4 separate regions of the Homo sapiens genome follow, and all the other regions are linked to region 1. The links are contacts of gene promoters, found by promoter capture Hi-C in human tissues and cell types (Jung and others, 2019). All regions are on one chromosome and are shown on one strand. Each heading gives the region's core, a stretch centred on a gene start or on the middle of the fragment in contact. The rest is flanking DNA. Distances are from core to core; before and after follow the strand shown.

Evidence for each region. Contacts are between HindIII fragments. The study calls those that stand out against the background at their distance.
Region 2: a fragment that was not itself captured here is called in contact with the fragment with the promoter of WNT5A in region 1 in 1 of the 25 tissues and cell types used here (mesendoderm cells).
Region 3: a fragment that was not itself captured here is called in contact with the fragment with the promoter of WNT5A in region 1 in 1 of the 25 tissues and cell types used here (IMR-90 fibroblasts).
Region 4: a contact is called between a fragment that was not itself captured here and the fragment with the promoter of WNT5A in region 1, in 1 of the 25 tissues and cell types used here (IMR-90 fibroblasts).

The regions. Positions count from the first base shown.
Region 1 is chr3:55,483,613-55,490,638 of GRCh38, reverse strand. WNT5A (Wnt family member 5A) reads left to right here and starts at 3,333. Exons shown (of 5, transcript NM_003392.7): 1 at 3,333-3,659. The coding sequence starts at 3,654. It overlaps WNT5A-AS1 (WNT5A antisense RNA 1), which reads right to left and starts at 3,021. Exons shown (of 2, transcript NR_046656.1): 1 at 2,760-3,021; 2 at 2,331-2,649. RefSeq lists enhancers at 1-124, 687-1,198, 1,199-1,709. The HindIII fragment of the contact is 9,126 bases long and covers 1-6,142 here.
Region 2 is chr3:54,873,350-54,880,375 of GRCh38, reverse strand. It overlaps CACNA2D3 (calcium voltage-gated channel auxiliary subunit alpha2delta 3), which reads right to left. Exons shown (of 38, transcript NM_018398.3): 19 at 1,287-1,358; 20 at 965-1,026. It overlaps CACNA2D3-AS1 (CACNA2D3 antisense RNA 1), which reads left to right. Exons shown (of 7, transcript NR_046666.1): 4 at 1,432-1,688; 5 at 3,222-3,360; 6 at 4,065-4,107; 7 at 4,666-5,771. Among named protein-coding and RNA genes, the nearest start is that of CACNA2D3-AS1, 24 kb to the left of the region's middle. The HindIII fragment of the contact is 5,236 bases long and covers 100-5,335 here.
Region 3 is chr3:54,894,789-54,901,814 of GRCh38, reverse strand. It overlaps CACNA2D3 (calcium voltage-gated channel auxiliary subunit alpha2delta 3), which reads right to left. Exons shown (of 38, transcript NM_018398.3): 26 at 4,945-5,066; 27 at 1,947-2,027. It overlaps CACNA2D3-AS1 (CACNA2D3 antisense RNA 1), which reads left to right and starts at 560. Exons shown (of 7, transcript NR_046666.1): 1 at 560-656; 2 at 4,857-5,149. The HindIII fragment of the contact is 8,357 bases long and covers 1-7,026 here.
Region 4 is chr3:54,949,872-54,956,897 of GRCh38, reverse strand. The region is part of intron 27 of CACNA2D3 (calcium voltage-gated channel auxiliary subunit alpha2delta 3); the gene reads right to left. It also overlaps a transcript of LRTM1 not described here. Among named protein-coding and RNA genes, the nearest start is that of LRTM1, 25 kb to the right of the region's middle. RefSeq lists enhancers at 71-1,062, 2,056-3,048, 3,049-4,041. The HindIII fragment of the contact is 4,629 bases long and covers 795-5,423 here.

The DNA.
Region 1 (7,026 bases), core at 2,084-4,583:
GCTAAGAGCATTCCTAGATATCGTGTTTCATTCTCAGTACTGCCCTGATTTTCAAGCTCATCTCATTTCATTCTCAATGCATTTCTGCAAGGTAGATCATGAAATTTCTGCTTGCTGCTGTTGTTGCTGTTGTTGTGTGTAAGAGGGTTCTGAAGTGCTGGCTGAGAGGCTAGACAAGGTGTGACAGCTGGAAAGTGGCAGGGCAGGGACTGGAACTCCAGATTCCACAGCTGGCACTCTTAACCACTAACCAACACCGACTTCCACTAGAGGAAAGACTGCAGAACAGGAAATAGCACTGTTTGGGCTGTGTCTATACAAGCAAAGGCAATTGGAGAGAAGCAGGTGATTATCCAGATAACTCAGAAAATAGCCATTAAAAAATAAAGGTTTGTGGTTGGGTAGCCAGTATTTCTAGACTGGCTGTATGTGTGGAGGAAATGCCCAGGTTAACGGCCCTTTTCTTCATAGAATAGGATCCTCTACACGAACTGCCTTGGACTCTGGGACACTGGGATGCTAGTTTCTCCATTCTTCGGGAGCGCCCTTTGGCAGCCCCTTTCATAGTCAGCTCATATCCTGCCACTTCTTGGAGCTGCTGCACGTAAGGTGGGTCCCGGAGATCCCTGCCCGCGGGGCGGGGCTGGAGTGTCTGCCTAGGAGGCACATGCTCTCCCGCAGCCAGGGAATCTCAGTCTGCGGCCACTGGGCAGAACGGCAAGGGAGAGGGGGAAGGGCGGAGGGACGCAGCCTGGGGGCGATTTGCCGGGCGGAGACGCTCTTTTTCAGACACCCTCCTCAGGTGGGCAGATCTCAGGTTAGATTCGAAGACTGTAAAATGCCCACAGGTCGGGAAGTGGTCAAGGTTTACAGAGGAGAAGGTTAGAGGAATGGAGACTCAGGAGGTAAAGGGGAGATGTCCCAAGGGGAGCTTTGAGAACCTTGGATTCCCTCTCCTTAAGGCCGCACACGCCCTGGGGGAAAGAAAGCAAGTTGGTGGGAGGCGGGAGGTGCTAAGCAGGAGCATCTGTCTCTGGCACTTGGTGGGAAGTTCACACTGCCATCTTTGCGCGCCAGGAAGGAGGCCAGGGCTGGGGAAGGGTCCAGTCGGCTAGGAAAATTAAGGAATGGGAAGGGGCTGTGGAGGGTGGAACGGCATCGCTGGAGCCTGGGCCTGCGCCCTCTGGGGTGTGGGGGTGGAGGTGGGGGAGGACTGGAGGAACAAAACAAAACAGCCACCACACCAAAACACCTAGGCCACGGATTTTTCGCCTTAAGGTCAAGTGCATGCCAATGGACGGAGAAAATTGAATAGTGTGTGTGTGTGTGTGTGTGTGTGTGTGTGCGCGCGTGTGTGTGTCTTCACCTTTGACAGCTGGAGAATGCAGACGGCGGAAAATAACTATTACGCTCCAGTGTGAGGCACTGTTTGTGGGGTGGGGCCCTCGGCGTGCTGGAGGTAGCGGACACAAATCCACCAACCCTGCCCCTCCGGAGTCCCCAAAACCACGGGCATCTGGAAGCGTCTAGAAATTCCGGTGCCCGGAACCCGGTTTTGCCAAACTTCGCAATCTCCTCACCTGAGGGCACCCGCCAAGATCTCCGTGGCAGGACCACGCATCGCGCCTCATGCTCTGGGCCGGAGCCAGATGAGCAATCATGCATCCCACTACCCAAGTCCCTACTACTCTGGGGACTTTGCAGGAGGTGAGCGCCTAACCCTATCCATCAGCCCCAGTGCTTAAGTATCCTCCCCCAGAGGTAAGAATGAGGAGGTCCCCCATGAGGTTCCATGTCAAGGCAGCAGTCTCCGTGGAGCCCCAGTGGGAGCGGTCTGGGATACGCGGGCGAGCCAAGGGGTCCAGGCGGGGAAGTTGGGGTTCAGCCTCCCGCCGGTCGGTGGCTCTGGAAGGAGCGCAGACAACCAGGCGGCAGGCAGGCAGCGGCTGCGGAGTGGACCTCTCTCTTTCAGCAGATGCCGCGGGGGATGGGGAACTTAGAGAAGGGGAGACAAGGAGAGTGTACCCCGCCTCCCGGCACCCCAGCCCGTAGTACGGCTTTAAAATCCTGCAGAGTTTGTCATAGGCCGGCCTCACCACGCATGCGCATAGCAAAGTTGAGTTTTTTCTTTCTTCCCCCCCCTTCCCTCTCTCTTTCCAGCCGCCCCTAGTTCTGAAACTTTAAAGAACTTTTTTCTTTCTTTCTTTCTTTCTTTTTTTTTTTTTCTTCCTTCTGAGAACACCAGGGGAAAGAGGAGTCTGGAGAGAGGGAGGGAGAGAGTAAGGCAGTTGGCCAGAAGGGCTGGGGGGTGGGAGGGGGGGACGCGTCCCCGCGGTCGGTCAGTCTGTTTGCGGGGCACAGGATCGCGTGGAAATCTGCTGCGAGCTCCACGGAGCCGCCTCCGCCGCCCAGAGCCGGGGTCCGTGCGGCAGCTGCCCAGCGAGCCCTTCCGCCGCCGCCGTTGTGCCCGGGACCGCCCGCCTCCCGCCGGCCCGCTCTCCCGCCCCTCGGACCCGGGCGCCAAACGAGGAGGTGGGCAGCTTCGCCGGCCATGGACCGCCGGAGCTGAGTCGCCGCCGCGGAGCTCCGAGCTCTCGCCCTTCCCCAGCCTCGCGCCCGCGGTGCACTCGCTGCTCTTCGCCCTTCGCCCTGGAAAAACGGGGAAAAGAGAGATCAACCCGAAGAGAGAAAGAACGGGATACGTGGTGGGGGGGGGGAGCCCGCGTCTCCCCTGGGTTAGTCGCACCCCTCCAGCTCACCGCACAGCAATAAGTTCCGGGGCGACTTTCACCTATTTTGCTCCCCGTTTTTGCCGAACCCTAAAATGAAAGGACACAATTTGGGGCTGACTCTTGCAGCTCAGATGGCGACTTGTGCGTTTTCAGCGGCATCTCCCGGAGAAAAAGCCATGCGCGCCTGATTGTTCTGTGGCCCCAAAGCTGCAGCGGGGGTGTGTGTGTTGGGGTGTGTGTCTGTGTGTGTACAGAGACGTCCACACTAACTCGCGGCTGCAGGATCAGCGTCTGGAAGCAGACGTTTCGGCTACAGACCCAGAGAGGAGGAGCTGGAGATCAGGAGGCGTGAGCCGCCAAGAGTTTGCAGAATCTGTGGTGTGAATGAACTGGGGGCACCTGGGCGCACAGATCGCCCCCCTTCCCCCGCCCCGGGCCACAGTTGAGTAGTGGTACATTTTTTTCACCCTCTTGTGAAGAATTTCTTTTTATTATTATTTGTCGTAAGGTCTTTTGCACAATCACGCCCACATTTGGGGTTGGAAAGCCCTAATTACCGCCGTCGCTGATGGACGTTGGAAACGGAGCGCCTCTCCGTGGAACAGTTGCCTGCGCGCCCTCGCCGGACCGGCGGCTCCCTAGTTGCGCCCCGACCAGGCCCTGCCCTTGCTGCCGGCTCGCGCGCGTCCGCGCCCCCTCCATTCCTGGGCGCATCCCAGCTCTGCCCCAACTCGGGAGTCCAGGCCCGGGCGCCAGTGCCCGCTTCAGCTCCGGTTCACTGCGCCCGCCGGACGCGCGCCGGAGGACTCCGCAGCCCTGCTCCTGACCGTCCCCCCAGGCTTAACCCGGTCGCTCCGCTCGGATTCCTCGGCTGCGCTCGCTCGGGTGGCGACTTCCTCCCCGCGCCCCCTCCCCCTCGCCATGAAGGTAGGTGTTCAGTGCGCTGCCACTTTTTTTCTTTACTTCCCCCCACCCCCTGTTGGAAGTTAACTGAGTTCCCTTCGCCTCTTCCTATCCCTCCATTTCCCCAACCGCCTGAAGAAGCTGGAACTCCAGCGTCGCTGGCAGGAACCCCTACCCCTTCGCCCTCCACGCCGGGCGCACTGCCTCAGTGTCCCAGGAGATCACTTCTGGTCGCACCACCCGTTCTGCAAACAATTTTGATTTTTGAGAAAAAGTGGGGAAGAGCGATAGTAGACAAACTGAGTGCGGTTCACTGACGACTTTCCTTTTGCTCTGAGAACATCGAGTGTAATTTACTATGTATATTTCAGTAACAGGATAATGATTCAATTCAACAAATATTTACCAAGCGCCCACTGCGCGGGCACCGGGACGGTGTGTGGCCGGGGCTCGGGATGGGGAAAGGGACTCCTTGGTTGAGAGAACCCGCAGAGGAACTAGGGGCCAACTACTCCAGAGCGGCGTACACCTTCCCCGACACCCCCCCGCACCGACGGAGGCCAGATTGTAGGCTTGCCTTGGCCGAGTAACTCGAGCGCTTCAGGCCCCTTTGCCTTTAAGAGTGCCTGGCGGGGGGCCAGCGCGCACCCCGGCGCGGGGAGCGGGGTCGCGTTATTAGCATTATTAGCCGCCACTGGGTGAGCTCAGGCACTTTGCAGCAGTGGTGGGGGCGGGGAGTTGTGGTGGTAGTGGCTGTAATCCCGTACTCCGGGACAGCGCTCCCCGGCCCCCTGAGCGGAGTCCGCCTTGTCCTTTAGAAAACACTTGGGCCTCCGCTTTGGGAGAGCAGGCGGGGGCCAGTTTGCGAACTCTTGTTTGTTTTAATTGTCAGTTGTATGTTAAAGCCGAATCACACACTCCGAGGGTCACTGAGAGTTCACTTTTACGAAAAGTTAACGTTTCTTCCTGCAACATAAGTTTTTATTTTCTAAACAATTTTTCTTATCTGTCCTCCAAGCTTCGATTCCTATTTCCATTTTTCTGGTCTTTCCCATTTTAAGTTTCTTAGAAAATAAGGTTAGAATTGAAATTAAGATGTTTCCTGGAAGCAAATAACCCCTCTTCCCCCCAAAAAGTTAAAAAAAACAACAACAAAAAACTTCAAGTCTGGAGACCCCACGGCCCTGTTTGACTTTCTAATCCCTGTCTGGTATCGAGGCCCCTTCTCCTCTCTCGCCTCTCTTTTCTCTCTTCTCTCTTTAAATGGGTAATTCGCTGTTTGGAAGTAACTTGGGCCTTGCGGTGAGGTCGCACCTCCTCAGCCCCTGCCCTCCCCCCAGCCACCTTCGCACATTCACTGCCGAACCAGCCAGATTTAGTTTCTAGACAGACTCTGCCAGGGGAGTTTCGAGGGGGCAATGCGGAGAGTGCGCAGCGAACCGCGGGCCGACAAATGTGTGTGTGTCCGAGTGTGTGGATCCTTGGCTGCGTGTGTGTGCGTGTGTGTTTGTGTGTGTAGGGGAGTTGTTCTCGGGTCCAGGACGTAGTAGCCTTCGTCTCCTCCACCCCCCGACCCTCTCAACGGAAGACCCTCCCCAGGAGGCCCGGCCCAAGAGTCCCCTGTCTTCTCCTCCCCTCCCCCGTGCGCTCCGGTGCTCAAGGGGTTAGCACTATGCGCGCAGAACTCGGAGCCATCCCCGCGGCCTTTTCTTCCCCGCGGTGCGGTGCCGGCTGCCCCCTGTTGGCCGCCTTGAGGTAGGACTCCTGCGAGCCTCGGTTCCTTGGGGCGGGCGGGCGGGCAGCTGCTCCCCTCTCCCTCCCACCCCTGCTCCCTTCATCCCTCCCGACCACCAGACCCCACTCTCCCAGCAGGGGCCCTCGGAGGCCCCCAGAGGACCAGTTTCGCTGCGCCGCCGGCCGCTGCAATACGGAAGGGGCCACGGGTCCAGCCCAGCAAATGGGACTCGGCCAGCTGGACACAGGGTTGGTACCTCTTCTTCTGGGCTTGGGAAGGAGAGTGTCGCCCTAGGAGGCCTCGGGTCTGGCCTCAGCTGCCTCCCAACTCTCTATGATCGAGAACAAGTGTTGCTTTCCCGCTTTTCGCCTCACTTTAATCGTCTATTAAAAAGTGGGAGAGAAACTACCTTTAAAGAGTGGGGGTTGGACTATCATTTCATTTTCTTCCTCTGTCCAAGGACTCTGCTCCACCTCTGGACAAAGTTGATCCTCTGCCGAGAGGGCTAGACATCCTATGTGAGAAGGTGTGAGTGGTGTGTGTGTGTGTGTGTGTGTGTGTGTGTGTGTGTGTGTGTGTGTGTATCCTGGGGCCTGGAAAGCCCAGTCTAAGGGATGGACGAGGGGGCAGGAAACAGAGGAGAACCAGGCCAGACCGTTCTTCCCCTGGGGCCTCTCTATACCCGAACCTGGAACCTGCTGTCAGTGTTGAGGCCTGGGCGGCTCTCTTTTGTCATACTGATTCTGGCTCAAGGTGTAACCTCCGCCTTCTCTATCTGGCAATTCCCTCCTCCCCTACCCCGCTCCGCGCGCGCCAACACACATATTGCTGTGGACACAACCCTTGCGCCCAGGCGTGAGGCTTAGGGAGTAGTGGCTCCTTTGTCTGCTCCCCTAAAGCGGACCTCCTACCCGCCTGGGCCGGCCCATTCTTTAGCTCCTCGCGCCGCTCCCCGCATTCTCCAGGGCAGGACGTCCCAAGTTTTTGGCTGCAACTGAGTGCTCTCCTGCTAGTTTCTGCATCTCTCTCCTTGCTTTAGGGAGAGATCAGAGTGGGGAAAACAGCTTTCTTTTTCCACCAAGAGTGGAGATTCTTTTTGGAGTTTCCCATCCTCCCCTTCGCTGCCATAAGCCTGGGTCAAATGGGCTTCTTCCGCCTATTTGGCGTCCCTCATCGTTTCACTCCCAGAAACTTGGGGCCTAAACGTAGAGAGTCTAGCAGAAGGGGATGCCTAGACTGAATGTGGCAGTGCCCCGGGGCCGAGGGGAGAGGATCTTTGCTTGGCCTTTTTATCTATTCTCTTAAGGGACTGCCTGCGGAGGAGGAGTTGGGTGTTGCGAGACTTTAGGTGTGCATCCGGCTGCTCCCCGCGCCCTCCGAACGTCCTCTGAACAATTTTGCTACTGAGGTTTCCTCTCCCTCATCCCTCATCACGCCTGGCCCGCACCGTGGTTGGTAAAGAAGGATCAAGAACACCTTTAATCCGACGCGAAGGCTTTGAGGGATACATAGAAAGGGAGCCACGTCGTTGAGCTGCTCTGGATTGAAGAGGAGGACGCGGGAACGCCCTCCTCCACCTCACTCCTCTGGTGCGCTGAGCCCCTCAAACGCCCCCAGTCCTCCTCCCCGTGGCACGCGAGGAAGATTCTCAGTGTC
Region 2 (7,026 bases), core at 1,468-3,967, 610 kb after region 1:
AAAACTTCCACTACTACATGAGTGTAACCACATTACTGTGTTGCAGGCTTCTTTGCCCAATCCTCTCCCTAGTCTAATAGGTTTTTCACACTCACTGGCTTGATTTAAGATCCATTCCGTTTTTATCAAAAGCAAGAGACTATGTTTTTAAAACATAGTCCCTTACGTTAGAGAGACTATTTGGCAAACCCACTTAGCAGCTCATGTGGTCCTTATTTGCTCCTGGTTCCACATGGAATCCACCCATGATCCTTGGCAGTTTAGGACAACAATGCTAGAATTTATTTTTCAGATTATTCTACAGTCAGTAAACTCCTTCTCTCCTTAGCTCTGAGACGCCAGTTCAGGAATATGAAGCAGGCTTACTGAAATAATTTTTTACAAAATGAATTACAACACTAAGTTAATAGTAGTGGGAAACTTTAGAATGCTACATACACATCTGAAAGCAGCCAATGAGGCAAAGCCATTTTTCAGGACTGTTACAAAGAGAAACAACAGGATTCAAAAGTAGACAAGCACACAAGGACAGTTCAGAGAAATGGAAACAGAGGCACAACATGTAGGAATGGATATGCCACCTCCAGGTTTGAAGGATTGTTTTTTTGGTCATGGAAATAAAAGGTGAAATGGAACTCACAAAGCAGCAAGTTCAATAGTTAAGGACCCTGGTAACCCTCTGCACTTGTCTTCACCCTTAGCGGGAACCCCCAAAGCATATTTGCTTGACAATGAGATGCAAAGCCATGGCAGATTGAGTGAGTTCTCCTAGGTGAGCCTGAACCATCTCCCCCCCTTCTGGAAAACAAAAGCAGCCTGGGAAAAGCCCCTTCCTCACTCTTTCCAGCCTTTTGGCAGGGTGTTTGGTTATCTTCAGATGATGAGCTCTGAGAGTGTCAGCAGGTTTTGTACAAACACAACTGATGGGTCTGATGGAATGTCCATGTATTATGGTCAGCTCTACCTGAAAGGAGTACCCTTGATGTCTGTATAATAGTAGTCATTTGTCATCACCAAAACCCGTTTCTAGATTGAAAAAAAAAAAAAAGTCGTAGAGAAAAGAAAACATGGTTAGTCTGCTAAGTGACGTCTTCAGAAATAAATAAAAATAAATGGACACACTATGATCAGGTTAACAGTACTACATGAATCTTGTTTGAGATAAGTAAAGACAAGAGAAAAATGATCTCAGCGAAAGATATTTATTCCAGATATAGCTTTCAAAGCTAATTTTTCACAGTGGTTTGTTTTAAATTAAGCAGCAAAAATGTTTGAGAAAAATGTACCCCTTTGTCCACTGTCTTCTTCACCTCCATGGAAAACTTCCCCGTCTTTCGATTCACCATAGCATTTCTCAACTAAAATGATAAAAGAAAAGTGTGTTAGTTCTTCCCTGGGTTATCATGTAATCTGGACATCTTGCATCCTCAGCGTGCAGTGGAGCCTCCATATTGAACTTACACCTCGAAAACAGAGCTTCTGAAGAATAAAACACCCAACTGCTCATGTACAATGGGAGACAGGCTAACAACAATAAATAAATGACCTTCATCTTTAATTTGGGGAGCTCGTGTAAACTTCAGGACAATAACAAAAGAGCCTTGGCGATACTGATGAATCCCGGGGGTCAGAGCGTGAACTCCTGGAGACCCGCTGAAATGCCGAGCAAGAACGTCTCTGGGGACAAGGTACGTTTTCAAAAAGGGTACTGATTTGTCATGGAGAAATCACTTTTCAAAACGTAATCAAGTTAAAGACGTTTTCCTACACAGTAGTTAAAAAGAAGAAGAAAAAAAAAAAAAAAGGCCAAGCATTTGGAAGACAGGGGTTAGCCTTTCCTAAGATGAATCATCTTTAAATGCTCTCTGAGAAATCTGGGCCAATTAATGACCTTGCTGATGAGGCAGTGAACAGGAGCGACCCTGTATCTGATTTTTTGGAGGTCCTGTTTAGGAGCAGCGAGCCTGGCTCTCCTCCCCCACCCCCAGCTGACCTCATCTAATTACATGTGGCCCTTCCATGAGTTCAGAGGAGGACAGCAGACGCAGTGATGAAAGATGTGCCGTCATGGGCACCAAGGCAAGACGACAGAGAAGGCCAGTTAATGGAATAGGAGCAAACGCTGACATGCCACAGCCTGTCAGGAAAGGCTCTCTCCCCACCCCTCTCTTGTCTTTTTCATCTTTTCCCCTCTTTTCTCCTTTGAGGAGCTTGAGTAAGATCTGGCCGATAGAAAACTGCAACACTAGCAAGCAACCTAAATTTGATTCGAGGCTGTCTAGATTTGGGTTTGCATTCTCATCTTCTGTGTGAGTGAGTAAAGGCATAATTTTTAGCTGGAGGCATGTATAAAATAAAACATATATTTTACTCTAGATATTTTTTTAACAACACATAATAGGCATTTCTGGAAATATTTTCCCATTTTAACTTTTGTGGTTTTGGACAGGGAGAGCTGGTCCTAATTAAGTCTACTTTCTAACTTTTAAGAACGGCTCGATTTATCTTTAACATGGTTTTCATTTTTCCTCTTTCTGGTGCCTGCCTAAAGCCATTTGGGACCTTCTCCTCTCACATTCCCCAGGCAAACTAGAGATTAGGTAAGCCTCGCTGTGTCTCCATGCCACCCCACCCCCAACTCCCAGTAGCACAGAACAATCAACATGGGGGTCTGGGAGTGTCCAAGGCCAGGGTCACTGATGCCTCCTTTAGTCTTGCCCTTGTCTTAAATCATAACAAAAACAGGTTATACTTATTGAACCTACTAGTGAAGCAGGATGGCACTGTAGTTAAGGAATGGACTCTGGAGCCAGAGCTTTATGATCTTGGGTATCTCGATCACTTACCATCTCTGTGACTCAGCTTCCTCTTCTGAAAAATGGAACTAATGCCAGCACCCATCCCATTAAGTTGTAGTGAAGACTGACGAGTCAATATTTAGAAGAGTGTCTGGTGCCTCCCAAGCACTCAATACATGCTAGCTATCCTCCATCATCATCAACACCACAGTCAACAGTATCTGTATCATCGTCATCCTCATTACCATCTTGCTCATTTTCACTTAGTGTCAGACACCTTTCAGTAGCTTAAAGCATCAGGATTCGGACTTGAGTTTGCTTGAGGCAGATGCCCAAGCTCAATGTTTTCCAAACTGTTTTGACTTTGAGCCATGTAAGAAATACATCTTACTCTGATGAGCCCCTCTCTATCTCCTATTTTAGTAGATTTCGTTGCTATGTTGCTCATGAACCACTAAATGGATTTTGTGACCTCTCCTCCAACTCCCCACATTGAAAACTGCTGCTCTTAACTGCCTGTAGGTTTACATAGACCGAAAAGGAGACAGCCCCAGGTAAAGAGGTAAACCACGATATCGATGTTCAAGTTTTGCCACTGACACAAGCCAGCTGTCCCGTGACCTCTCTGTGGCTCACTTTCTTCCTGTTTCATTCATTCTGTCTAAAGTGTTCATGAGTGAGGACTCCCAGATCCCAGGGATCCTGTCAGGGGCTATAAAAAGGGAGGTCATCAGATTCCTATGAAATTCGGATACTACTGAGAGATACTGTTTACTGAGTTCTTACTGAGCTCTTACTGTGTGTCAGGCACAGATTTTAAACCCCTCAAACTTATCTTCTGAGGTGCTGTTATTATCTCCATTTTACAGGTGGAGAAATAGGCACAGATAAGAAGTTTGCCCAGGGTAACGAGGCCTCTGCCTCTTGAGCCCATGCTCTTAACCTCTGCTTCCCAAATCAGAAGAGAAAGCACTTGGACAACATTAAATACTTTATAGCATTAATATAAAAATCATATATTATTTCTGAGTTTTTAAAAATCAAATAAAATGTTTTAACAATTGACCACGTCATAGTCTGAGGTCCTAACTTCCTGGCAGACTCTTCTACGAGCTCTAAGTACTATGATCTAGGGTTGACAGGAAGGTGGCTTTCTGTCCTCCTTGCCAGAGGAGGAAAGGGAGTTTGATGACTTAATAGACTGCCCTGTGAGAATACAGCACTGTGAGGCTGGAACATTCTAGAAATGTCACTTTTTTATCTTAGGAAGCTGCGGCTTGAGAAGAGGAGCAACTTGCCCAGAATCACAGTGAGTGGCACCCCTAGGTTGTAAGACGGCAGAGGAGTCCTAAGCACAGGCCAAAGTGATGGGGAAGAGCAATGCAATCAGTCCCCACCTAAGGCGGGGAGGGCAAGATGTTCACTGCTTTGAACTTGCCACTGCTTGGATTTACAACAGTGAACAACTGGAAAAATGCAAATGGCCTGGCGGAGGAAAATTTCCAAACAAGTTTTGATGTGCCCATATGTTAGCATATTATGTAGTCATTAAAAAACCCATGTGCAGCTGTTCAACTTAACACATAGTCAGAGAAAGGCAAATTAAAACATCAGTGGCATACCTTGATTTTTCCATATCAGATATCAAGCATTCGCAAGTGTGGTAATGCAATGGACATTAAAGCAGCTTGTACCACAGTGTACTCAATAAAATAAAAGGTAAAATCTCCTCAAGCTGAAAATACTCATCTGGCGACAGTGATCAGCCTCTCCGCTCTCTGGGAACCACCCTTTCCCCTGGGCCCTGCATTGTCCAGTTCAGATGTGCTTCTCCAGAGCCCCTGGTGAATGTGTCTCTCTTCTGCAGTGCTGAAGCAGAAGCTCCTTGGATAACCACTCAAAGCACCCACTTTCCTGCCAACCTCGTTACAGGTGGAAGCCACGTTTCCTGTTTCATTGTTAGTCTGCTACTCTGACCAGCCATGTTACAGTTCATTAAGGAAGCTTTCCCCAGAGATTCACTGGCCACCTTAAGTTGTGTGTATGATTATGGAATGATAGCTCGTGCTCCTAATGGTGGCTCATTGTCCACATTAGAACGTGAGCCTCACCTTTTCTGGTGCACAGGCAGCCTGCATTTCTAAGCCCCTAATGACATGCAACCACAGACAAGCTGGCAGTTTAAAGAGGAAGGGAGACACAGTGGATAAACAGGTCTGTCATTCCCAAGCAAGCATTCAACCAGCGTAGGAAAACAGACTTGAGCATGGAGAACCTGCAAAACATTCTCTCTCTCTTCCTCCTCCCCTATGTGTCAGTTTGGGTTTGGAGGGGGTGGGGGAGTGCTGTGCTTAGTTTGGGTGTCCAGAGCTCAAGCATGAGCTGGAGAGACACTCTGGGAAGGGTATAAAAAAGAATCAAATAAATGGACTAAGGTCTCAGAAATATGTCCCATGAAAAAGGCTTTTTTGCCTTATAGGGCTTCGGGCAAAAAAGACTCCGGAGAAATTTTCCATCAGAGTCATCATGGGTATGAAGCAATGTAGTTGCCTAGAGGGTAGTAGGGGAAAAAAGGCTTTTACCACAACAGAAGGGATTGTAGTTAGATTCAAAGCAGCATCTATGGGGCAGTACTCACAACAATACCATGCAGACAAACATCTGTTTAGCAGCTACTATGTGCAAGGCACTCCCTATCTTTTCTGCACCCCCCGAGGAGGATAACCCATATACTATGCGTCACTGAAATAGAGTCTTCAAGGACTCCTGGACTCAAGGACTTAAGGGCTCTCTCCATGGAATATCCAAGTGTCAAGACCACGGCTCTGTGGGCCAGGCTGCCTGAGTTGGAATCCACACTCTATGTCCTTAGGCCATTACATCCATTCTCTGCCTCAGTTTCCTCACCTGTACAATGGAGATAAAACACCCATTTCATAGGTTCACTGTGATAAATAAATAAGTTCACTCATGAACTTAGAATGGTACTGGTGTACAGGAAGAGCTAATATATGGCAGTTATTATTTTTATGAGTTTTTTTCTATTAATAATCACATTCAATGTGGAAAGCTTGGGAATGACTGGAAGTTAATAGGAACAAAACAAAAAAATCACCCTCAATTCCTTGTGCCATCTCTGAGAATTTATAACCAAAGGATAAACGCTATTTTTAAGATAATTTTCCCTTCCCAGAGGGGATCTACACTGGCAATTCAGACTGGGCTATGCATGTCTCAAAATCCCCTGCTGGCACACGGGTCCGCCAAAGATCTGCCCTACTTATTGTATTCCTGCCCTGATGCCTAACTCATCCTGCAGAGTGGGACAGAAGTCCTGCTCATACTGCTATAAATAGTTTTAAATTGTTGTCTTTTTTTCTTTTAATTTTAGCCAGTCTATTTTATATACATTGTAACAGTATATATGAACTTACTTCATTTTTGGAAGTATGCAGGTTATAACTGTGGTTACTAAATTCAGGAGCCTACTTCCTAGAGAAGTAGAACTCACCTTCCAAGAAATTCTCTGCATCTGGGCAGACTCTACTGCTTCTTCCTCAGTGGGCTGTGCTTACATGTTCTTTCCTAGATTTCAACCTAAACCCTGTCCTCTGCTACTCAGGTGCAAATCCCAAGGCCCAGCACATGGATATGTAAGATTTTGTGCAGACTTCACAATGATGCTTTCTGTAGATTCCAGAATTCTCCAATTAGTGACATGCAAATCCCCAGGAGAGAAATGGTGGTTTGGGTTTTCCCAAGTCAAATATGTTGATAGAGAAGGAATTCACATTCCAAATGCACCATATTCCAAGGCGACAAGTTAAGAGACTCAAACCAAAGACGTAACCAGAGAACAATTTGTGCAGAACAAAAGCACTGGACTTGCTTGAGATGTCCAACTCTGAAGTTGGACAGACAGAACGCAGTCCTGGGTGTCATGTGGAGGTGAAGAACACACACGTGAGGCTGCGAATCCAATGCCTGCAGCTCCAACGAGAAAGCAAAGTAGGATGAGGAGATACAAAGTGTTCCCAAACTGTGATTACTAAAGGAGACATTCGCTCACTGAAAATTAGCTGGGGCACAGGTGATGACTGGAGTGAGCTGAGTCATACATCTCTTCAAGTAGCATGCAAAAAGGGAGACGATTCAGTGAGGTCACAAACAAGCAAACAACAAAAAAAATAAATCAACAGATAAAGTGAAGAAGGAAGAGGAAGGGCAA
Region 3 (7,026 bases), core at 2,614-5,113, 590 kb after region 1:
GGGCTGCATCCACAGCAGTCTTCAACATCAAAACCAAGCAATTCTGTTTTATCTTACGTCTACCAAAGTTTGAAAAAGGGTAACAGTCACCAATTCTAAAAGGTAAGGACTAAATACGGTTCTTTAAATGACCTTGCTTCTTGGCCTTGCTCTGTAATTATCTTCTGAAAATGGGGGCCATTTGGCATACACAGAGAAGCAGTAAATAGGAGGGTGCCTTCTCCACCCACTCAGGGTGGACCAAACTGTGTCTCGTGACCTGCCTGTGGTCTATGGCCAGCGATGCAACTCGACAATAGACTGGCATAGCATTTGGAAAGTGCACGTTCTTCTCTAGACTGGATACACAGTGTTCAGGCTCAGACCACGTTTCACCTATACTCAGCCAAACAGGCATTTATGAAATGTAAGGCATTTGGAAACATGTGAGCATAGTTTGTAAACTTGGACAGAGGTGGCTGGGACAGGCACAGTGACCTTAGGGCTCATCCTTCATGATGACTAAACTAGAAACCCAAAGAAAGGGTTTTAAAAAGAAATTTCAAACAGACAACCAGATATTCTGGCCAGACCATGTCACTGACAGCTGCTGCATGTGGCCTCAGCTCCCGGGAGACAACATGCCTTCAGAATTAGCTCGCTGGACCAGCCTGGAGGTAAGCAAGCCTGACCTCCTTTAAGCATAAGTAAATCTTGTTGAGTTAAATGATCCCGTCTCCCACTTTCCTCAAGGAACATGAGACATTAAGTGACAAAATTTGAAGACAGCAACTGTGAATCCTCAGAGCCCATATCTCCTGGCTGATTAAGAATAGGTCTGCTTAGTTCAAGATGAGCCACAGGTCAGATACATAAGGCTGTCATCCTTGTCACACCCAGTAACTCAGGAATAACCAGGGCAACTACCCCCAGATCTTTCAACCCTACTAATACAATTATACACAGGCCAAGTAAGAAATAAAGTGGGGGGAAAAAAGCAGTATTTCCTCGCCAAAGAACAACCACTTCAAACAGGTCTCCTCCATCTGCTCCATTTATACTCCTTCCCACAAATATTCAGTGTGTGAAGACACAGAAGTGGATGTTAAGTCACCCTAAAGTACAACTTATTGAGGGAGACTGCTGGAAAACAAAAATCGCTCTCTTTAGTAAACCCAGCCAATACCAGGATGGTGCTTGGAGCATATCACCCACCCATCAACCAATGGCTCCAAAGTGATCAGAATAAACCATGTGCCAGACACACCCTCGGGCCTTGTTTTTATGTCAGCATCTGTCTTCAAAGAGGGCTTTTTGGTAGTTGCCAGCCCTTTAGGCCAAATGCCACCAATGAAAGCCCCTAGCCATCCACAGACAGCTGCTGACACTCCTAAAAAGTGAGAGAAATGGAAAAAGCCAGAAACGGGACTTCTTTGACAATTCAAGACTCTCAGTCATATAATATTTTGGCTTTCCCCTGGTCCCAAACACAGCACCTGCAGATACAGCTAACTCTAATTCCCCAGGGGGATTAGGGGGATGAAAATCTCAGTCTCTCTGGAGAAGGGCACATTTCAGTTTGTGTTTGCCTAAAACAAACCTGCAATTTCCTTGTATGCCCACTGTCATCCTAATGACACAGAAGCTGGAGATCTGGAGTTTACTTTGAATGAACATGCTACCTACCATCAAGAAATTCTCCTCGGCAAGTACTGACAATTTCTTACTGGCTCAGAGTTTAAGGATAGAAACGCTGGGAAAGTTTTCTGTTTTCACATCAACCACCACCAGCTGTCAGAGTCTTGGTTTGAAGGAGATGACACCAAGCTGAGAAGGAAGTAATTTAAAATTGTTTTCTCCTTTGAAAACCTTTTTGGAGGATAAGCGTGCCTCACAGAAGTAGCCCACTGGCCGGATGAATGGGCGCCATGCTTACTTTGTCTTCATGGATTCAATCAATTATTTACCTGCCACCACAGGAGATTTCCGTTCATCCAGGAGCTGGATGGATGTACTTGCTGTCACCACATTGCTTTTATTGACTGGTCCTGTGAAAAGAAAAAACACCACAACAAAAATGAAGATAATTACAGTGTACACGTTAAGAGAGTAATCATATCGGTCTACAGTCACCAATTCTGCAAATTGTTCTGGGGCTTGGTCCCAGGCCCCAGAGTCCTCTGAGGTGTGGATGCTCTGCCTACGCTGCCAGGCCATGAGTGCAGTGCTGCGAGTCCTCCCAGCTGAAGGAATTGGCGAGTTGAGTTATGACCACCAGTGCACTGGGGAACATCCAGCCTCTTCACATCGAAACCATTGACCACCATCGAGGGACCACATTTTTTGGTAATCTGTGGTTTCAAATTGCAGTGTTTACTTGTGTCAGTGGTCATATTTACACTGCCTGTCTAAATATAACCATGAAGAGCTGTATGAGGGCTTTGAAATTATTTTACAAGTTGGCAACTTTAGCTCTGATTCATTGGTTAAATCTTTACTGATCTATAAAATTGTAATTTCGAGCCCAGTTTTTCTGGGCAAAATTATTCTAAACAGGGATAGAGCTAGAGCATAATCTTCACTCCAAACTATTATTATTCTGGTAACAATATGGCATTAGTATTAAGAGATTTTCAATTACCAGCAATGGTTCCAATATCCACGAATTAAAAGATACTGAGCACAAATTCTGAATGCCTGGAGTTAATAATTTAGTCCAATGCCCACCTGCTAAAAGGTGCTCAATGAAAGTGAGTTGGATGAAATCCAATTGAATTGAGAAGCAGGGAAAAGTCAAACCTGAATATGAATACACTTAGGACCAAAGTAATGAGAAATTTTCTCCTGGCCCAAGTTTAAGCAGCAATAAAAACCAGTTTCTTTTCTAGTTTGTACAGGTATTCAACACATAGCAGAGAAAATCAGAGAGAGCTCCACCACAGAGACTTGCAGTTGGTGATTTTTAAGATTTTCCCGGACTCTAAGGGGGTTATGAAATGTCCTAAGATGTTACGTCATCTGTAACTTTGTCATGAACAAGGTAAACTCACTTCATTATACCATTACATTGAAAGTTTGGTGAAAATCCCAGTTACCAAAAACCAATCCAACAACAGCTTTAGTTAACTCGATGATTCCAGAATCAGAAGAACAGCAAGCTAAGTTCTATTATTTTTCTTTAGAGGATTGTGACAAGGAAGTCTTAAGAGATTGCTTGACAGAAGACAATGTTATTATTCATAGGTCTGCAGCAGAATGAAAAAGTTCACTGTCTCTTGATATTTTCAGCAACAAAGTGTGGTGCAGACAAGCACAAAGAAAGAGCTTCAGGCCAGGCATGGTCCCAGCACTTTGGGAAGCCAAGGAGGGTGGATCACTTTAGGTCAGCAGTTAGAGACCAGCCTGGCCAACATGGTGAAACCCCAACTCTACTAAAAATACAAAAATTAGCTGGGTATGGTGGCGGGTGCCTGTAATCCCAGCTACTGAGGAGGCTGAGGCAGGAGAATCGCTTGAACCCAGAAGGCAGAGGTTGCAATGAGCCAAGATCATGCCACTGCACTCCAACCTGGGTGACGGAGCAAGACTCTGTCTCAAAAAAAAAAAAGACGGGGTGGGGCGGAGAAGAGAGAGAGAGAGGAAAAGAAAAGAAAAGAAAAGAAAAGAAAAGAAAGATAAAGAAAGAAAGAAAGAAAAAAGAAAAAGAAAAAGAAAGAAAGAAAAAAGAAAGAAAGGAAGGAAGGAAGAAAGCAAGCAAGCAAGCAAGCAAGCGAGCTTCGGACACCTGGAAATTTACATTTGAGAAAGCACACACAACTACAGGCAGGCATACACACAGGTCTATCAGCAAAGGAGCACAGACCCAAAGAACCTTAGACCTGAAAAGAATCTAACAGATAATCTAGTCTGAAATCCCAAGCAGCAAAGAATCTCATCAATAACATTCAGCCTCTCCTTAAATATGTCCATTGATGAGGGACTGTCTTCCTAATGAGCCCATTCAACCAATTGTAAGAGCACTCTTTGCTTTCTACAAATTTCAAAAGCACCCTTTCTGAAAATATTTTCAGTCATGGAAATGACAAAGCACCAAGCCTTAGGGAGGGGGATTGGGCACAAACCCTGGAGAACTTCCCTTAGGATTGAGTTAGGAATATTTGTAGAAGATTAATATGAAAGGAACTGATATATGTAAAATATAACTACAGATTGAACTTTCCAGAGCAACCCAAGTTTACAGAACTAGGTTTCCTTCATCTCTCAAGTTTCTGCAATAAGCAGTATAGAGTGAGCACCCAAAATACCAGATGCATGAGGCAAGAGAAAAAAAAAATACGAGGAAAACTGAAGCATTTCCAGTATGTTTTGCTTCCAAAACTGGTGGAAATAAGACATCATTCAGTTCTTTTTGGAGGCAGGTGACTTTAATTTTTTATACTATCATATCATAAACTCTTAGGACTGAAAAACTAATCGGCTACATGCCTGTCATTGGTAACTGCAGGCTCCTGTCAAGAGAGCACATGGTTATACAAAGTCAGTCCTTAGTCCGGCATATCAGTTTAAATCAATTCAGTTCAAATGGGGAACAGTGGACCTCTGCAGGGATGTGACTCACTGAAGGTTCTGGCAAGGGATGCTTGAATTTTCTCTAAGTGGGGCCATGACTACATTTAAAAAAACTGACTGACAAGTTTCTATTAAAATCCCATAGGATGCAAAACATCAGCCCTGCTTCCTGAAATACATTTACATAATTTGGTAAAGGAAAAACCTTCCTTTTCTTTGAGGCTATTACTCTTATGGAACTGGTCACTGGTTCAGGGCTGACCCAATATTCAGCACTGGCTCTGAGGGTTGAACTTGGTTCCTTTCAGCATTCAGGCAGCTCCCCAACACCCTGCACACAATGCCCAGACCCACTGGACCAGACAGACAGAGCCCGCCTCCAACAAGGGCACCCACCAGTGCTGAATGGGATCGAGTAGACGAAGCTCCCTGGAATCTGCTCAGCGGCTCTTCGGTACCAGAGAGGGAAATGGTCTGCGTTAAAAATGTTCTCCTTGTCGCCAGCTTTCAGGAAGTCCCTTGAAGTGGAAAAGAATCAGAAGAACATGCATCACTCAGCAGAGTAAAGGTGGGCCTGGAGCACCCCGACAGCCTTCATCAGGTAAAACCAGTGTTCACTTTTAGAACCCCAACTTGCCTTTCTCAGTATAGAGGGGGCCTCACTTAACACTGTGCACCCCAGATTACTCAAAAACATCTTGCAGAGCTCTGGGAGTCAAATTCTGAGTGGGTAAAATGATTTTTCCTTGTATATCTAGTGAACTAATTGTCTTAAAGTCTGAAGCCAAGCAAACAAAGCCTACAGAAATCCTATCAGAAAACCCAAGGATGTCCCCTCTAAACAAGAAAGCTTTGTCTGGCTTTAATACTCACACACATATACTCATACCCTTGGGAGAATCAACTCCTTAAGTAGATCTCATTCTTCTTAGAGCAAGTGTAAAGAAGGTAAACACGCTTCTCAGAAGAAGTGCAAAGGAAGTAAATGTGAGCCCACACTGAGATCTTTGTACCTTCTTCCCTCACCTGCCTCCTCGCTGGACAAACAGGCCTGCTCATGCCCCCTGTGTGCATCCCCGCCCTCCACTGACTCCCTGCCTTCTGCGCAGAGAGCTTGTCTATCGGGAAGGCTAGGTGCAGTCTTCTTTCTATCTCTTCCTTTCAAAATCACACTCATTTTCAAAGTGCGCCTCATCTACCATCTACCCCATGAATCCACAGAAACACATGCAAGCTTTTGCCACACCCTGGGCCCCCACAATCTTGGTAACTTTCATATAGCCTTTTATTTATTTTTTGGCCTGCACAATCATCATATCCCCTCCCCAGACCTCCCAAGATCTCTGAGGACAGGAGATTTGTTCACATTTGTGCACTCTTCACAGAGCCTTAAGCATATTCAAGTCCCAGTGCATGATTATTGACCTGACATTCCCTCTGGAGAGTCACATGTGCTGTCCAGCACCTGAAGCGCCTCATCTTGGCTGATACGGTGCAACTCAGGCGGTGGGGGGATGACCGCCTGGTTAGGCCACAGTCTGCTGCAGACATTTTTCTGGAAGGGAGACCAATCAAGGGACAACATATAGGTAGGGAAAAGGCCATGAGTTGAAGCAGAAATGGCACCACTTTCAACCCAGCAGTTTGCAGCAGAGAGTTGGATCACAAGGACCATGGAGAGAAATTTTCATGCTAAGTTGTAACTGGTTGGTTTCCTGAACTTGGCACCCAGTTCAGGAAAGCATTCAGTAGTTGCAGGGTGTGTCTAACCAGGGTTCCCTTCACCTCTACCAAAGATGGAGTGCCCACTTTTGGAGAGGAGGCCCATGCCCTTCGAGGACACCCTCCAGGTTCTTAGATAGCTCTGGAATCTACCTCCCTGTAACTTGTACTAGCATGTCCTAACTCCTTTCTAAGGTCTGGGACCTTCCTCCTCCCAATATTTCCAGGGCCTGGCTCTCAGCAGGCGCTTGGTGTATGCTTAATGATCACAAGAAAAATCTAATCTCATATCCAGATAAGAGCTCTTCCAGTATTAAACACAATTTCCTATATCTTCAAAAATAAAATTTCTCAATTTGTTTAAATTCCTTTCTATGGCCGTCTTCATAAGTGCTCTACTTTGTTAATACTGCTATAAAATTTTGTGCTACTAGAACTAGGTAATTGTAGGTCAAAAACGGTCTGACATAGCATAGCTGCTTGCATTTGATCTTGACTCTTACTGACAAAATGACTCTCCAGAAATTAAAAGTGTTTAAAAGAAAAATTTTTACAAAGCACTCTTCTCTCATTCAGAAGGCTAAGGCCAACTTTGGAGTCATGTGCAAGACTGAGAAAGTGCAGAGATCCCCTGTGCTATCTAGAATGCTGGAGATCAGGACTTCCAGGCTCATCTTGGTAGACAAGCTCTTCTTTGTGCTGCTTGTATTCAGTGGTAATGTTTCCTAATCTAAAAGTCATCAGGCTTCAGGAATA
Region 4 (7,026 bases), core at 1,860-4,359, 530 kb after region 1:
GAGGTTTCCCTAACTGTAAGATGTAGTGTGCTCTCGGTGTTCTTTTCTGTCAGATAAAATGCAAACTGGAGGTATCAAGGTAAGTCATTTGCTACCTAAACACTCTAGAATATTTGCACCAATTAATGCATCTAAATATTCAAATGGGTTCTGTCTTCCCCTAGGTAATGATGACTGATTTGCTTAGGTGATTAGGCCATTACCTTAAGATTACTCTGAGAACAAATTACCTAATCTGGAGGTAGAGTTAAAGAGCTCTCCACTAAAGAGGCAGGGTCTGTAGGATGAGCAGGAATTTATGACAGCCTAAGACCAGTTGAAGAGGGAGTGGGGGAGAAAGTATTTTTGGCTGTGCACAAAATCCTAGGTTGGTAACGAGTTTGAAAAGACTGAGAACGTTAAGACCATGTGGCCCATGCAAGTTAGGAAGCTGCATTTCCTGGCCTTTAAAAGACAAAGACAGGAAGGTTAAAACAAAAACTGGTAATTATTCTGGGGATAGCCTGACACAGCAAAATTGTCCCCTTGGTGGTGGGTCAACAAGACCATCACTTTCTTTTCCCGGAATCTCCAATTCATTGTACATGGAAAGGATGACTACACCAGGAACAGCCAAGGGAAGACCATGCGCTTACGGGTCTGCTCATGCAGCAAGGCAGCCTGGCAAGGCAAGCCACTGGGCTTGGTTCCCTCTGGCCAGGGAGATACCCACTTCAAAGTCAAACACCTGGGTGGCAGATATGATCAGCTGCAGCAGACCTGGCCCAAGGCAGATCCTCCCAGAAGAGCTGCACATGAGGTGATTATGAGGAGGGAGGGGAGGGAGAAGGAGACAGGGAAACATTAAGGAGGGGCGGACGGCACTCTGGAGTAATCACGCACTTTTTTCCCTCTCATTTCCTGGAATCTCAGGACCTTAGAATATGTGGGAGTCAGCCCTGGAGTGGAGAATACCAATTTTTTCTCTTCATCAGGCAGATGGCGAGGCTGGAAAAGCCATCTTCTGTTGTTAAGCCACTGCTCCTTGACTCTCACCAGGTTTCGTGAGCAGGCTTAGCTGGTCAGGTCTCCTGAGGGTGGGCTGTGAGGTGGGGCTGGCACTTTCCCATCTGATTTGGCAGGTCAACTCCAACTCCTTCTCAGCAGGGCCAATACCCAAAAAAGCCCCCTCGGTAGACAGAGGCCTCAGGGGAGAGCCAGGCTGTCTGATCTCAGTGTCCCTCAATTTACACATTTCTCCATTCCACCAACATTCTGTTGGGACTCAAAGAATGATATCCCAAAGACTGGAGCTTTGACATGCTGATAGACCTTAGAAGCTGCCTCAGAATCAACGTTCCTCTAGCTTAGTATTGTTTCTCCTCTTATCCTAAGTGCAGGGAGGGACTCTCTTTGGAATATCCTCATCTGACCAAGAGAGCTTTTTTTTCTTTTTTCTTTTTTCCAAAAGAAATGCAATTGTCTTAAACCCCTGCCCTAGAAATCTCATCAAATAACCAGGAAAGATCAATGACCAGAGAAGAGAGTGGGAGTCATCACCAGCCCAGACAGACTTTTCATCTGTTCTTCTGAGAGTAGCTTCAAGAGATTACCTGCGGGACATTATCTGCATAATAAGACAACCTTTGTCCCTGTGCAGCTCTGCCCCTCACCTTCCCTAATGTCTGCCCGTCTCCTCCAGGGTGGGTCCCCATCTCCCCTGTCCCCTGTGAAAAATGTATATACAGTATGTAAGCTTCTGTACCCCACTGGGTTATTGGATAATCATTCTCCTACGATTCCCCATGTTACGTACGTTCGAATAATTTTGTATGTCTTCTCTCCTACTAATCGGTCTTTTGTCAGTTGATTTTCAGCAAACCTTCAGAGGGTGAAGGGGAAGTTTTCTCTACACCTCTCATATTCCCTAAGCATAGCTGGTGCCCAGTAAGCATTCAATAAAAGCTAGATGAGTAAATGAATGAGCAAATGCACTGTGGTCCAGACACAAGGAGGTTAATCGGCGCCTCTCATGCTGTCTCTGAGAAATAACTCTGAAACCCAGTTGTTCTTCTTTCTGAAGATTCCTGGCACCCCCTGGCTCTTCTCTGTTCCCTCAGCTAAAGCATTCCATGCTTAAGGCCTCAGGGAAGGGAGGACACACAGGAATCCAGAGAACAAAGAAGCAGATTCTGGATTTTTGACTCTCAAAAGCTGAGGCCTGGGGAATCTCAGGGCAGGAAGAAAAACAGGGGAACTGCCTGGGCCAGTTTGTCCTCTCTGCACCCTGTCTTCTCCACACCCTACCTCCAGCCTCCTGAACGAGCTGCTCAGGAAAGATGATTTGGACTGGAAAGGGAAGAGAATCAAAGGGAAGCCGAAGGGCTGGTAGACCCCGACAGAAAGATATGCACCCTGATGTCTGGGCAGGCATCTGCCTTCCTACCTTGGGTCTAACTCTGGAAACTACCAGAGCAGTGAGGAGTATTCTGCTCCACACAGTCCTTTCTCTCCTATTGCTGGGAAGAATGTGAAAGCATCCCTGCTCTAAGCCCTGCTACTGCCAGAAAGGAGACAGCCTCCCAGAGGCCACAGACAGACAACTCAGTGGGGAAGTGTTCGTGCTCCCGCAGGCTCTTCAGAGTGAGGCCCAGGGAGCTGCCGACTGACTCGAAGGTGACCTTCCCTTGGAATGAGGAGGCCATAGCACTGACCTGTGCCTGGACTGATGACAGAAGACCAGATGCGACTGGGTGACTCAGGAAATGCCTGCATGATGACATGATTAAATAACCCCCTCTCTCTTTGGCCTCAGGTAAACCCTGGGAATAGGCAGAGAGACACTGAATTCATGGAAAGTTCTTGCCTACTAGGATAATGAAGACTTCTGATGGAAATTAGGTTGAATTCAAATAAAACTGCATGGATGGCACTCCTGAAATCTGTGGACTGAAATCTGTGGCCTCTGCTTATTCATGACACAAGAACATAAACAATGGAGCACTTAGCAAAACGGGGTGACCTCAAGAGGCTACTCAGACTCCAAGTCCCAGGCCTTTCCTCAGGTCTGCTTGGGGCTGATCCTGGAAGAGAACCTAGGGTTGTGCGCACTGACTTGCAGTGCACCCCCCTCACCCACTCCCAGTGATTCCCACAGCCTGTCAAGCTAGCAGAGGCAGGAGCCCGAGGTTGCCCCAAGCGTTCACAGGCAAGGGGGAAACAACCAGCACAATGGCTTAATCCTCACCTCCTTCCCAGCTCCTGGGGAACTGGACCTTTTAGCATGGACAGAAGTCTTTAAAATAGAAAGGATCGTGGATGTCCAAGTATTGCAAGAAGTGGCTTTGAGAGAATAAGGTCTCCTGAGGCCTTGTTGTAATGACTGGTACTTTTCCTCTACGCACAGCATGGGCCATCTGACCACCAAGCGCGAAGGCTTCAGCTGCGTCCCATGATCTTGGCCCAGTGCTATCTGTACTGAGGGTGGGGAATTTCATGAGTCTCACCTCTATAGGTAAGAAGCCGTAGTGTTACCGGGCCCCACCACTTTAGCAGTTTCTTAGTTACTATCTGTGTCTGCTTCCTTCCCAGATTTGAAAATTTCAGACAAACTTAGGGCTGAGTCCTGCCTGTTTCATGTACATGCAGCATGCCTTCAGAGTCAGTTTTCTCATTTGCACAATGGGAACAGGAGTCATGCACACCTTATACGTTTGTGCCTTAAATGAGCTAATGTATGTCATGAGCCTAGCACAGTGCCAGGCACATAGTAAATATTCAGTAAATGTCACCCACACATACACATAACAACAGGTATGTACATTAAATACATGCATTATTTAATCCATATCCTGGTTTCCTCCCCTGCAGTTGAGTCTCTGTACAGTTTTTCCAAGACTGGAGAATGACTCCTGCTCAACAATCCATCCACTAAGCAGACTCCATGTCACCTTCAGGAACATTAGGCTTCAAATCCCTATGAAAAGTTTCCTCCTTTGTTGCTGGAAGACAAGTAAGCCAGACCTAGTGTCATCTCAACCACCCAGAACATTCCCAACTCTGCTGAATTTGTAAAACATCCAAAGAGCACGTGGAATCCTCATAGATAGATATTGTCATTGTCCCTCTGTTCTACAGCTGAGGGCATTGAGGTTTTGGAGTGGCTGGGCTGGAAAACAGATGAGAGAGCTTTCCCATCTGGAAGCTGGAGGGAACTATGCGGGCACCAGAATTTGAACCCATGAACACCAGATCTTTCTGACTTCAGAATAGAAGCAGAAAATAAATAACTATAATGAATGAGCCAAAGGGACTCACCTAAAATTACTTCAAAAAATATGCATTTAATGACCCTGTCCCTATAGAAAAGATTGACATTCCGTCTGCTTAATATGAGATTGGTAAGTCCACATTTTCTTGCAAGTTTTTGCCTCATGTTTTATTTTTTCTTTCCCACATCTGTGAACTGATCTGTCTCTGAGAGCCCAAAAAGAGCTCCTAAGATGCTCATGACATCTTCCAGAGCCTCCAGACCCTTCATGTTTGCGGCCTCCCTCTGAAGAAATAAGACAACTGGGGAGCCTCCTGGGAAACTAGGCAGGGCCCCAGAGAGATCAGAGCCCTGGGGGGCTTAGTTTCTAGGAAACCTGTGCCCACAGGGGTGCTGCAGAGTGCAAGGCCAACATCCTTTGTCTCTAAGAAGGCGGTTACAGAGGGAAGAAATAGTATAGAACCAACAGGGGTGCAGGAGGCAGTTTATAAACACAGCTGGCCAGCCAGGCCCAGTGGCTAACATGTGTAATCCCAGCACTTTGGGAGGCTGAGGCGGGCAGATCTTGAGGCCACGAGTTTGTGAGCAGCTGGCCAACATGGTGAAATGCCATCTCTACTAAAAAGACAAAAATTAGCCAGGTATGGTGGCAGGCACCTGTAGTCCCGGCTACTTGGGAGGCTGAGGCAGGAGAATCATTTGAACCTGGGGTAGGGAGGTTGCAGTGAGCCGAGATCGCGTCACTGCACTCCAGCCTGGGTAATGGAGTGAGACCGTCTCCAAAAATTAAAATAAAATAACAAGCATGGCTGGTCCTAAGAAGACAGAAAATAGAATTACTGAGGGCCCACTCTGGGCCAGGAACCCACCCTGTGTTATCTTACTTAACTCTTCAGCCATCCTGCAAGGGAGAAGATGTTTTCTCCATTAAAGAAAAGGTACACGGCGGTTCAGTGACTTAACCAGGGCTGTGCAGTTGCCAGGACTTCTTGGAACTGGGACTGGAGCCCTGCACGCCTGACTCAGAGCCAGCCGCCCTGTGGCTCCCAGGCTCTCCTGTGGTTCTCAGTGGGGCTGCGTCACCCCCTAGGGGTCTGTTCTGGAAGTCTGTAGAGATGCTTCAAAGTTCACAGTAACTGAAATCCTACAACTCACAGGACAGCAGCCCCCCACCCCACTGCCCCCGGGCCGCACACCAAAGAACAGTTCCATGTCCCTAATGGTGTCGATGGCTTGGAACTCTGTTTTATGTCCAAATACAAAGTATGTCTTGCACATGGAATTTTCTAGAAACATTACTATAGTGCTGTGAAAGAGAGAGATGGGTCTTCTTTATCTTGTCTGCGGCTTGGCTATTACAGAGGTATCTGGCAGGATTTGTGGGTGAGATGTCTACATAGTGGCCACTGCATTGACAGATTTTGCACCAAAGTGCAGCACAAGCATCTAGCTACTTTATTCTGTATTATCTTGTAGTTATGCCCCAAAATATTACAATATCTATTTTCCTATTATAAACAACTCTCAACTAGTTCTTGATATTATAGTTGGAGCGTTCTGTAGATTTTTTTGGCAGCATATAGGAAAACAAGTTACATTTTCTATGAATTTCATTTGGAGATAGTAAAGGGAATATTACAAATGATTATTTAAAAGGAGCCTTGGGTGTGAGAAGACTCAGGACTGTCCTGGCTTCAGTTTCCCCTCTGCCACTGAGCCCAGAGAGTATCCTCTTTATTTTCCCTCTCACCCCATCTTGTCTGTGGCTCTCCTCTCCTGCTCTTGCCTTGAAAGCACAGACTTGGCTCAGGCAAACCTCACATGTCACCATGCTTCCTCTGTGCGTCCCTTCCCGTTTATTTTGGCCCCGATCAAGGTGCAAGATATTGGTATCTGAGGCTCAGCTCAACTGATGGATTTCCCATCTCACAGCCGAGCAGTAAAAGAACGGGTTCCTTTCGTGAGTAGAGAACCTGGGTCCTAGATAAGGAAAACTGTTGAGGCTGCCCTGCCACAGCCTGGAGCTGTGCAGGTCCACTCTCCTGTTGGCATATTTTCTTTGATCAAGCAGCATTCTTTGAATTGCTGGTAGGCTGGGAAACAGGAGGAAGCATTGCAAACTGCTTCTTCTTGCACAAAGCATCTTAATTATAATTATTGTCAGCATTATATCGCTGCCTTGCAAGATGAAGAGGGAAGGAAGGAACACTGCAATTTCACAGCATACACAGGTTCCCTAAAATGAGGAGGGGGTTGCAAAGAGTAAAAGAGCAAGGAACAGAGCCCTCAGCAGATTAAAAGGGGCCTTTGTAGTGGCTGCATCTGTACATTAAAATAAATCTCTCCCAGCACTAAAATAACATCTACGTTCATTTGGGCCAGTGCCACATTCAGCATTTAAGAAATTTGACAAAACATTGCTTGAGCATGTTGAAGTTTGCCAGCTCAGAACAAAACAAGAAAGCTACCTCGGCTGTATGGAAATAGTTCTCCCAGTTCCCTACTTTTCACTTATGACTCCCATTTTCCAGCTGCACTTGAAAGAAAAAGACTTCGCCCTTTTTTCAGGTGCCAACCACTTAGCATGGCCCTGAAATGCACAGCAAATTGCCACTGGAGGTGGTAGACTTCAAGACGAATCTTTTTCTTTTCCCCTAAAGGAAACTACTAGAGACTCTGCATGCCTGATGAAGCCTTTAATAGCTAGAGAAACATTATTTGGGGTGGCCCTCAGGTAGACTAGACATGAATAATGCCTCATAAAAATAATTACTTCT